Linked DNA regions of Homo sapiens: region 1 is linked to region 2. Evidence: promoter capture Hi-C in 16 types of primary human blood cells and fetal thymus (Javierre and others, 2016). All regions are on one chromosome and are shown on one strand. The core of a region is centred on a gene start or on the middle of the fragment in contact, and the rest is flanking DNA. Distances in the headings are between cores, read along the strand shown.

Region 1 (4,547 bases), core at 1,050-3,549, 92 kb before region 2:
CTTGGACAGCTAGGAAATTAATCTCCCAGTCACCACAACCGGCAGAGGTAGGCGCTGCTTTAAATTATGAGGGAAATTCTTCCAATTTCCAAAACAAGGGCCTATTTTATCAAAAAGATAAATATGACTGCAGAGAAATAACATGATGACAATCCCCCTTCCCACCCCCGGTCTCCCTGTCCCCCTGTACCAGCTGCAGCAAGGATAGAAGATGAAACAAGCTTTGCCTCCTTCCTGGACTTTCTTCCCAAGCAGTTTCTATAAAGGTGCTCATGATCCAGTGGAAACCTCAAAAAAATAGGCTCTTCTCTGAGATACCACCTCCCCCCCAATGCCAGCATGAGTAATTACCATCTCCTGAGCACCTACTGTATTGTATGCCTTACACCATACGTGGTACTTGTCATGCACCACATTATCTCATTTAATCCTCATGATGGTCTATAATGGGATTCCCCAGTTAACAGGTAAGGAAACAGCCTCAGAGAGGTTAAGTAACTTTCCCAAGGTCACACAGCCCCACAGATAGAGACCTGGGTCAGTGAAAAACTGAAGCCCTGTGCTCTTAGCCAATATGCTATTCTGTGGCTACCAGGCACCATGCACTGGGAGTTCTGGTTTCTTAACTCTTGTGAAGGGAGAATGCTCTTCTCCCCAAAATGATGTTTTGCTTCTTCTGAGCCACTTGATATATAGCCAGAGCCAGCCATGACCTGGGGCTATTCAGGATGAAGGTGTATCAACAGCTGAACATTGCCATAAGATACCAGGATTCCAGAGATGGGAGCCTGTGTGTCTCAGAAAGAGATGGGCCACAGCAGGCAGGTGCCTGGGGAGAAGCAAATCATCCAGGGATGTGCGAGGACCTCCTGTTCTGTATCTGTTCTATCTCTGGGTATGTCCTAGAGATGTTCTAGATTGCAGGTAGGGACCCTTGGGTGATTTTACTGAGGAAGAACAATGATAAAGATAAGATAGCTCTCACTGACAGCACTTACTGTACATCCATCAGGCTCTAAACTCTTTTCATGCATGCTTCTCTCATTTAATCTTCACAGCAGCCCTGAGAGGTGGAGAGTGTCTTTCCTCCATCTTACAGAGAGGGAAGCTGAGCACAGAGCTGGTTAAAGTGGTGAGCCTGGAATGCTCTTTGCAATTCCTGAACTGGCACTCTCCAGCGCTCTGGTTCCACAGGGACTGAGAACACCAGGAGGGTGGGGCCTGTGTCTCTCTCTCTTGTCACCCCATCTGCCTAGGATACTGGGCAGGGCCAGTGCAGAGAGGAAGCTCAGGAGCCATTTGAATTGGACCAGGGGCAGTCTGTGACTGGTTGCTTGGTGTGCACGGTGTGCCTGAGTGCATCCCAGGGGAGCTGCTCCCAGTCACCCATTGGCCCATCCTTCCGTCCATCACCCACCCAACCCCCACAGCCCAATCGTGGGATCCACAGACATTTACAAGGAGTGGCAGAGTGTCGGAACAGAGTAGGTGCTTTCAGCCAGAAGAGCAAGTCAGGACTTAAAGAGTCCTGGTCTGGAATGGGCTGCCCATCAGTGATAAATCCGTCTGGCAAATTCCATTATAGGAGAATCTTGGGGCCCTGCTGAGGACTTGATGCATTTGAGGAATCACAAGAGAGGAGGAGGCTGGAGAGAAGCCTGCTGGGGGCTAAGTTTGGAGGGGCTTGCAGGGACCATACCGTGAGGGGTCTTCAAGGTCACATCAAGAGACTGTCCTTTGGGACAGGTGCAGTGGCTCATGCCTGTAATCTCAGCACTTTGGGAGGCTGAGGTGGGTGGACCACCTGAGGTCAGGAGTTTGAGATCAGCCTGGTCAACATGGTGAAAACCTGTCTCTACTAAAAATACAAAAAATTAGCCTTGCATGGTGGCAGGTGCTTGTAATCCCAGCTACTCGGGAAGCTGAGGCAGGAGAATCGCTTGAACCCAGGAGGCAGAGGTTGCAATGAGCTGAGATTGTGCCACTGCACTCCAGCCTGGGTGACAGAGTGAAACACCACCTCAAAAGAGAAAAAGAAAAAAAAAGAGAAAGAGATTGTCCTTTTCCCCAAGGGCAAAGAGGGGCGTGGTCAGAGTGTTTTAGGAGAGCCTCGGGTTGCAGATGGAGGACAGAATGGGCAGAGGCAGGGTTCGGGGCAGGAGACCAGGGAGGAGGCTGCTGCAAGGGTCCCCATGAGCTTGGAACTCAGGCTAGAGGAAGCTGAGCCCACGGCCTCTGCCCTGAACAGAGGTGAGCACAGAGCTGAGCACGGCTTGGATGAGCACACTTGATGCCACAGAATGACACTGCAGGGAGTTCCTTAGCCTCTCCAATTAGTTGTCTTCTGAGCAGCCTTCAGAGACAGCCGTGGTATTATTCCCATTCCACAGATGGGACCCCAAGTCCCCTGACGAGGCAGGAGCGGTGCCTGGGTCCATGGGCCTCTGCTGTGCAAGGCAGAAGCCAGCTCTGGCTCCTCCAGCTTCTAGTCCAGGGCTGGGACTGGGAACTCCATGGAATCAGAAGGTCCTAAGTGCAAAAAGGTCCTTTTGCAGACCTGGATGTGGGAGTGAGTCTGGGGCTTGCTTCCTCTCTGTGTGGATACCACTGTCACTCTCATTTACAGATGAGGACATTTTGTCTTGGTGAGCTAAAGTTATGTGTTCAAGATTGCCCACCTGGTTTTGTGGCAGAGCTGGGGTTTGAACTCAGGTTTATCTGATAATTTATCAAATAGTAGCACAGAGCAGAAGGAGAGAGCAGGATTTTGTGGGGCTGAGGGGTTTGGGGGTGGGGGCCGGAGAACTGGGCTCTGTTCCTCGTTCTGTCACTCATTCACTGTGTGACCTTCGGCATGCCGCTTGCCCTCTCTGAACCTGCTGGCTGTTTGAAGAGGCACTGATTATTCAACTCCCTCCAGGGTGGGAGGGGAGGGGGCCAAAAACTATGAGGGGAGGGAATGAGATCCAGGCCTGTATCAGGTGGCTTAGGTCAGGGCTGGCTCCGGTGTGGGGAACCTGGGGAACATTAAGGGCAGGGAAACTGAGGCAGACCATCACTCCCAAGTCCTTGCTGAGTGTAGCATGGAGGCAGCTCCACAGTCATTCTGTCTGGGTTCAGGGAAGTGCTCTTTGCAGCCTGAAGCTACCTGAGCTGCAGTGACAAAGGGAAGGAACAGAGACGCAAAAGTGCTGACTCAGCACCTTCAGGCTGCCAATCCTGCCCACTCTCTCAGAGATGCTGGTTAGAGGGAGAAGGGGGGCCAAGGACTCAGAACTAATGGATGGCTCCTGTCACAAAAATTCCAAAGACATTTGTCACAGGTCCACTTCCCGGGCAAGTCTGGCCTCATCAGTACACTCTTCCTCCACTGCTGAAATGGACAGGGTGAGGCGTGGAGTCATTGGAAGGAGTGTAGGGAACACGACTCAGGCACCATTTTCCCTCTGTTCACCATTGGCTGATCCCATCCTCTAAGCAGGGACTTCAAGAAGGGCTGGGGGAGGGGACATGGCAGGGCAGGGCTCATTGGTTTGGATACTTCTGAGTCTCCTCTGCTGCTGTTTTTTTTTTTTGGGCAACTTTTTAGCTCACTTGCTGATATCTGTCCTCTGGTCACCAGGAGACTGATAGAGGGATGTTGGAGGTCTGGGGACAGGCCAGGGACATCTCAGAGAGGAGGACACAGAAGGGCTGGGTCTCGAAAGATGAACTAAGCATATCAGGATCAGTAAAGGGAGAGAAGAGCATGGGCAGGAACACAGAGGGGTGAGTCTGTAGGATGTCACCTTGATGGCAGCTGAACATTTGGATCATGGGGTGAGGAAAAGGATACTTGGTGTTCAGACTACTTTTTACAATGAGGATGCATCTCTACAAGAAGTCAACTAATGTCTTGTCATGGTCCATGCCACCTGACATTTGTGGCATTGGGAGCGGGGCAGATTACAGTGGACAGGAGACATGGAAGGTGAAGTCATATACCTATTCATCAGTCCCTATTCAACAATCCTCCATCAATTCACCCAGCCAGCAAATCATCCATCCTCTCAGGCATTTACCTATCTATGCATCTACTCAACATCCACTCAATCGTTCACTTATCCATCCATCCATTAATCATCCATCCATCCGTCATTCATCCATCCATCCACCCATCCCCTCACCAATACTCACCAAACACTTAATTCATGCCTGGATATATGCTAGACACTGGGAACACAAATATGAATCAGACTAAAATGGACCTCTCAAACTGGGGAAAGCAAGAGGTCCCACACAGCTGCCCTGGCACTGTTCCCTGCTCCCACCTCTGCTTCCATCTGTTTAATGTGTCAGAGTGAACAGGAGAGCACTTTACTGCCAAATAGAAGCTTTTCAACCATTGTGTTAAAACGTAACTGGAAAAATACAAGTGACCACCCACAAACCCTTAATGGTTCTATAAATGTAAGATGAAAGCAATTCATTCCACTATTAAGATACATTCTGCCACTTAAGTTTATTTAAATAAACTCACTAAGAGTAACGCACATATTCCTCTGCGT
Region 2 (3,994 bases), core at 1,221-3,720:
ATCTGACTGTTTTGCTATGGTCCAAGGCAGACAACCTGGAAATCCCTGAATTAGTTTAGGGACCATCCCCTACTCTCAAGAGATGGGAAGACTGAGGTGCAGGCTGCAGAGGGGCTGCCCAAGGCCTCCTAGCATCTGGGATTCCCACTCTTCCTCCAGCAAGCCCTCCATGATTTACCCACTTAACACCAGCTTGAACCTGGATCAGGACAGACTTTTTAGTATCTCCTCAGCCAGAGGTGAAGCTCCTGAGGCCCTGCCTCCTAGAACATTCCTTCCCCTGGTATCACTGGGCTCCTGGCTTGTCCCTGTGCCTGCCTCTGTGGCCTGGACTGCTCTGCTTTCCCCCTCTCTGAGCTTCACTGTGGAGTGTGGCATGGACTGTGGGTCAGAAGGAACCGCACTCACCCTGCTTCTACCTTGTGTTGGTTGTGTGACCTTGGACTGGCTGCACAGCTTCCCTCAGCCTCGATGGTCCCATCTGTCAAATGGGAATTCTCATAGTTGCTTCAGTGTGACTGAGGGGGTGCAGAGAGAGGATACAGGGAACAGTCATGGGTCCATGTGGGCAAAATGAGCCTAAGATTCTTCCTGGGATGGTGTCCCCTCTGTCCCCTGGGTGTCCCCAAGTCAGCAGTGAATCATCCAACTTTGCAGAAAATGTGTGGCCCCTGCTGGCTTCCTGCCCTCATGTCCGGCCCTTGTTTGGCAACACAATAGCTCAGGCTGAGGCTGCAGGCGGGCAGCTTAACCCCTTCCAGGCCAGTATACACCTCCCCTACCCCTCACCACCATAAGCTGAAATTGGTAGGGCTGCTCAGGGGCTCAGCAGCTCTTGGGCCCCTTGGTGGATACCTGCTGCTCTCTAGGGCAGGCAGAGGAGAGTCCCAGGCTTCCCACCACCTGAGGATGGACCAGGGCTTCTGGCCCTGGCTCCAGTGGCCTGTGGCAAAAGAGCCTTCCAGGTACACCCTCGACTCCTCAAAGCTGCCTCCCTGGGAATGCCCTTCCTCTCTTGTCAGAATCCTATCTGCCCATCACACATGAGAAACGTCCACGCTGGGGAGGGAGCCTGACATGGAGCAGAGGCCCAGAGGTGCTCGCGATGTCCTCTCACTTGCACCCCCTTCCTCGTACCTGCTGGGCACCTGAGGACCCCTCCGTGATGGGGTTTGACCATACCTCAAGGGCCAAAATCTTTATCACATTCACAACCAGGATCGGCTCTGTGCTAGCTGGTAAATCCAGCCACTATTCCTTAAAGATCTCATGTTATGTGCCATTCCCAGCACCAGGGATGTAGCTCACTTCACTCAATTGACTGAGGAAACACTGTTTCCCCATTTCACAGATGAGACACTTGAGACCTGGGGAGAGCTGGGGCTTTGGAGTACGAGATCCTGGTTCAAATCCCCACACCAGCTCATATGTTTCCAAAGCTCAGTTGCTTTCACTGAGATATAAAGAAAGAATGTATCTACCTTGTGGAGTTGTTAATGGTAAAATAATGAGCCCCACACCATCCCTTGTTCCCCACTGTGGTTTGGAAACTCTGGGTAACTTTCCCAAGGTCACCCCAGAGCAAATGGGAGAGCTGGGATCTGTACCCAGGGCAGCTGTCTCCAGGCCAGGCTCTTGGCCCAGACCTCCTGCTTCTGGGGGACTTCCTGGGCTGTGGGGGCCTTGGGGCTCTTATGCTCTAGCCTTTGAAAGGGTGCTGGTGGGAGGAATGGTGGACCGCTGTCCAGACTACAGCTCCCTTGACACATAGTGGGCCCCGATGGTGTTTGGGCAGGGAAAGGCCCAGAGGGAAAGGCAAGACCTCAAGTGCCCAGAGCCAAGCCTCAGCTTGCCTATCCTGAAATGGGGGCACTGGCTGACCGAGAGGGGCCAAGGCTCGGAGCTTCCTTTTCAGGGCCCCTCCCCAGATCCCAGCATAGAGCTTTAGTGGCGTATGGGTAGGGGGCTGAGGAGGCTGGTGTCAGGCCTTGGTAAATCCTCTCCAGTAAGGGTAAGGCACCGAGGGGAGGCCAAGGCCTGGGTGCCAGTCCTCTGCCCCGGCATGCTGGGCAACTGGGGCAGAATACTGCCCTCTCTGAGCCTGGCACTGATGAAGGCCAGTGGGCCTTTTTGAGTTGGAGAATACACTTCTGGGAGAGCCAAGCCCTTGCCCTGCCCCCCTCAGCCCCGAGATGCCCATTTGTGCCCTTGGCACTACCTCTGGGTGCACCTTCCCCGACCCTGCTCTGAGCCACGAGGAGGCCCAGCGTGCCCTCGAGGAGCCTCTCTGTCATGGGAGTGGGACGATGCCCATTCTACAGATGGGGAAGCTGAGGACCCTCCCATCTTGGGCGCAGGGTGGCGGGTTTGGGGTGGAGGGGAGTGTGGGAGCCCCCACTCACCGTGCCTGTGGGCTGAGGGATGTTTCTGTTCCGTTGGACTGCCTGTCCGTCCAGGGCTGAGCGTGAGTGGAGCTCTGTGGAGCCTGTCAGCCGACCGTCTTTGGAGGGGAGCCACACCCCGCTGGCGAGGGAGGCCTGGCTGCCTCCCCTTCAGGTTTTCCAGCTGGCCCTGGCCCACTTCCCCCTGGGATGGTTTCCTGTTATTGTTCCTTTGTGAGGGCTGGGCTGGCTGCAGATAGGCAGGCCCTGCGGTGGGCGGCTGCCTCGGCCCCGGATGGCTGTCTCCACAGAGGGCTGGCACTGGACCCTGCCTGGGGCACCCCACTTGAACCCCTACTCCCGGCCTCAGCTCTGGGACTCTGAACCCAGCACCTGCAAAGAGCCTGGCTGTGGGGACCCTTGGCTGCAGCATCACATTTAACCCTCCTTGGAATGCTACAGGCAGGTGTCATCACCCCCATTTTATAGCCCGGGAAGCTGAGGCTCAGCGGGTTTAAGGTGCTTGTCCACCCAGCTGGGGTATAAAAGAGCCAAAAATCTAGCTGGGGTCAGCCTAGCCCCAGAGCTTGATTTTCTGTGGTGATCCCATGATGTCTTTGTGGGAATGGACTTTAAAGGTGACAGGGAGGCTTCAGGAGATGGGAAAGGGACAGAAGCTCTTGGCTCTGGAGGACCAGGTTGGCTTCTCCTGGTCAGAGCGGGCATGGACTCCAGCTCTAAGGTGCCAGCCTCGGTCTGTAGGGGATGTTTGCATTTAGGGATATTGGGTGGAGTCAAGTGACCCAGCTCTGCTTCTGATGTGACCTCTGGCCAGTTGTGTCATCCTGGAGCCACAGTTTCCTCATCTGTAAAATGGGGATAATCACAGCCTCATCCTCACAAGGCTTTTGACATAAACGAGAATCAAAGAGGGGCGTGGAAGACAGTGACGCTGAGGCTGGATCAGAGCCCAGAAGAACCAAGAGGCTGGGGGGAAGGGAGGGGCCAAGATTCTGCTGACCAGGAGAGACATAGGAGGAGCTTCTAAAAACTACAGAGGACTGGGCTCACCCCAGATCAACTGATTTGGAATCTCCCAGGGCAGATCCTGGGAATCTGTCCTTTGAAGAGTTGCTTCTGTTTTTCCATGGGTGAATGGTTGGGAAGTCCCAAACTTGTTTTATTATATAGCTGGGCAAGCAGAGACCCTGAGAAAGAGAGGGCCCAGGGCCGTTTAGTAAATCAGAGCACAAGATGGGGAGTGTGATGGAAGGATATTTTTGGAGGAGGAGGGGATAGTGATTCCTCTGTCTCAGGCAGGTTGAGTTTGAGATGCTCGTTAGATACCCAGGTGGAGGTGTCAGGCTGGTGGGGGAGACAGGGGTGAGTCCAGCCTGGAGTCGAGGTTTGGAACCCAACAGCTTATGGCTGGCATCTGAGGCCATGGGCATGGATGAGCTTGGAGGGAGGGAGGACTTGGACCCTCTGACATTTGGGGATCCATTAGAAGAGGGTCCCATGATGAAGGAGGAATGCCAGGAGAGGGCAGAGGAGGAGGGCAGGGGAGTAGTCAGTGGGTCAGCCTGGGGAGCATGAGGGCTGAGACTTAACTT

Evidence for each region. Contacts are between HindIII fragments. The CHiCAGO score rates a contact against its expected background, and 5 or more counts as called.
Region 1: a fragment that was not itself captured here is called in contact with the fragment with the promoter of CDH5 in region 2 in 1 of 17 cell types (activated CD4 T cells); the score reaches 5.0 in activated CD4 T cells.

Annotation. Positions count from the first base shown.
Region 1 is chr16:66,456,814-66,461,360 of GRCh38, reverse strand. The region is part of intron 2 of BEAN1 (brain expressed associated with NEDD4 1); the gene reads right to left. It also overlaps the pseudogene LOC107984807. Among named protein-coding and RNA genes, the nearest start is that of BEAN1-AS1, 17 kb to the left of the region's middle. The HindIII fragment of the contact is 4,152 bases long and covers 224-4,375 here.
Region 2 is chr16:66,365,167-66,369,160 of GRCh38, reverse strand. CDH5 (cadherin 5) reads right to left here and starts at 2,470. Exons shown (of 12, transcript NM_001795.5): 1 at 2,403-2,470. All of the region lies in intron 2 of LOC105371318 (a long non-coding RNA gene), which reads left to right. RefSeq lists enhancers at 511-1,217, 2,028-2,577. The HindIII fragment of the contact is 26,652 bases long and covers 1-3,994 here.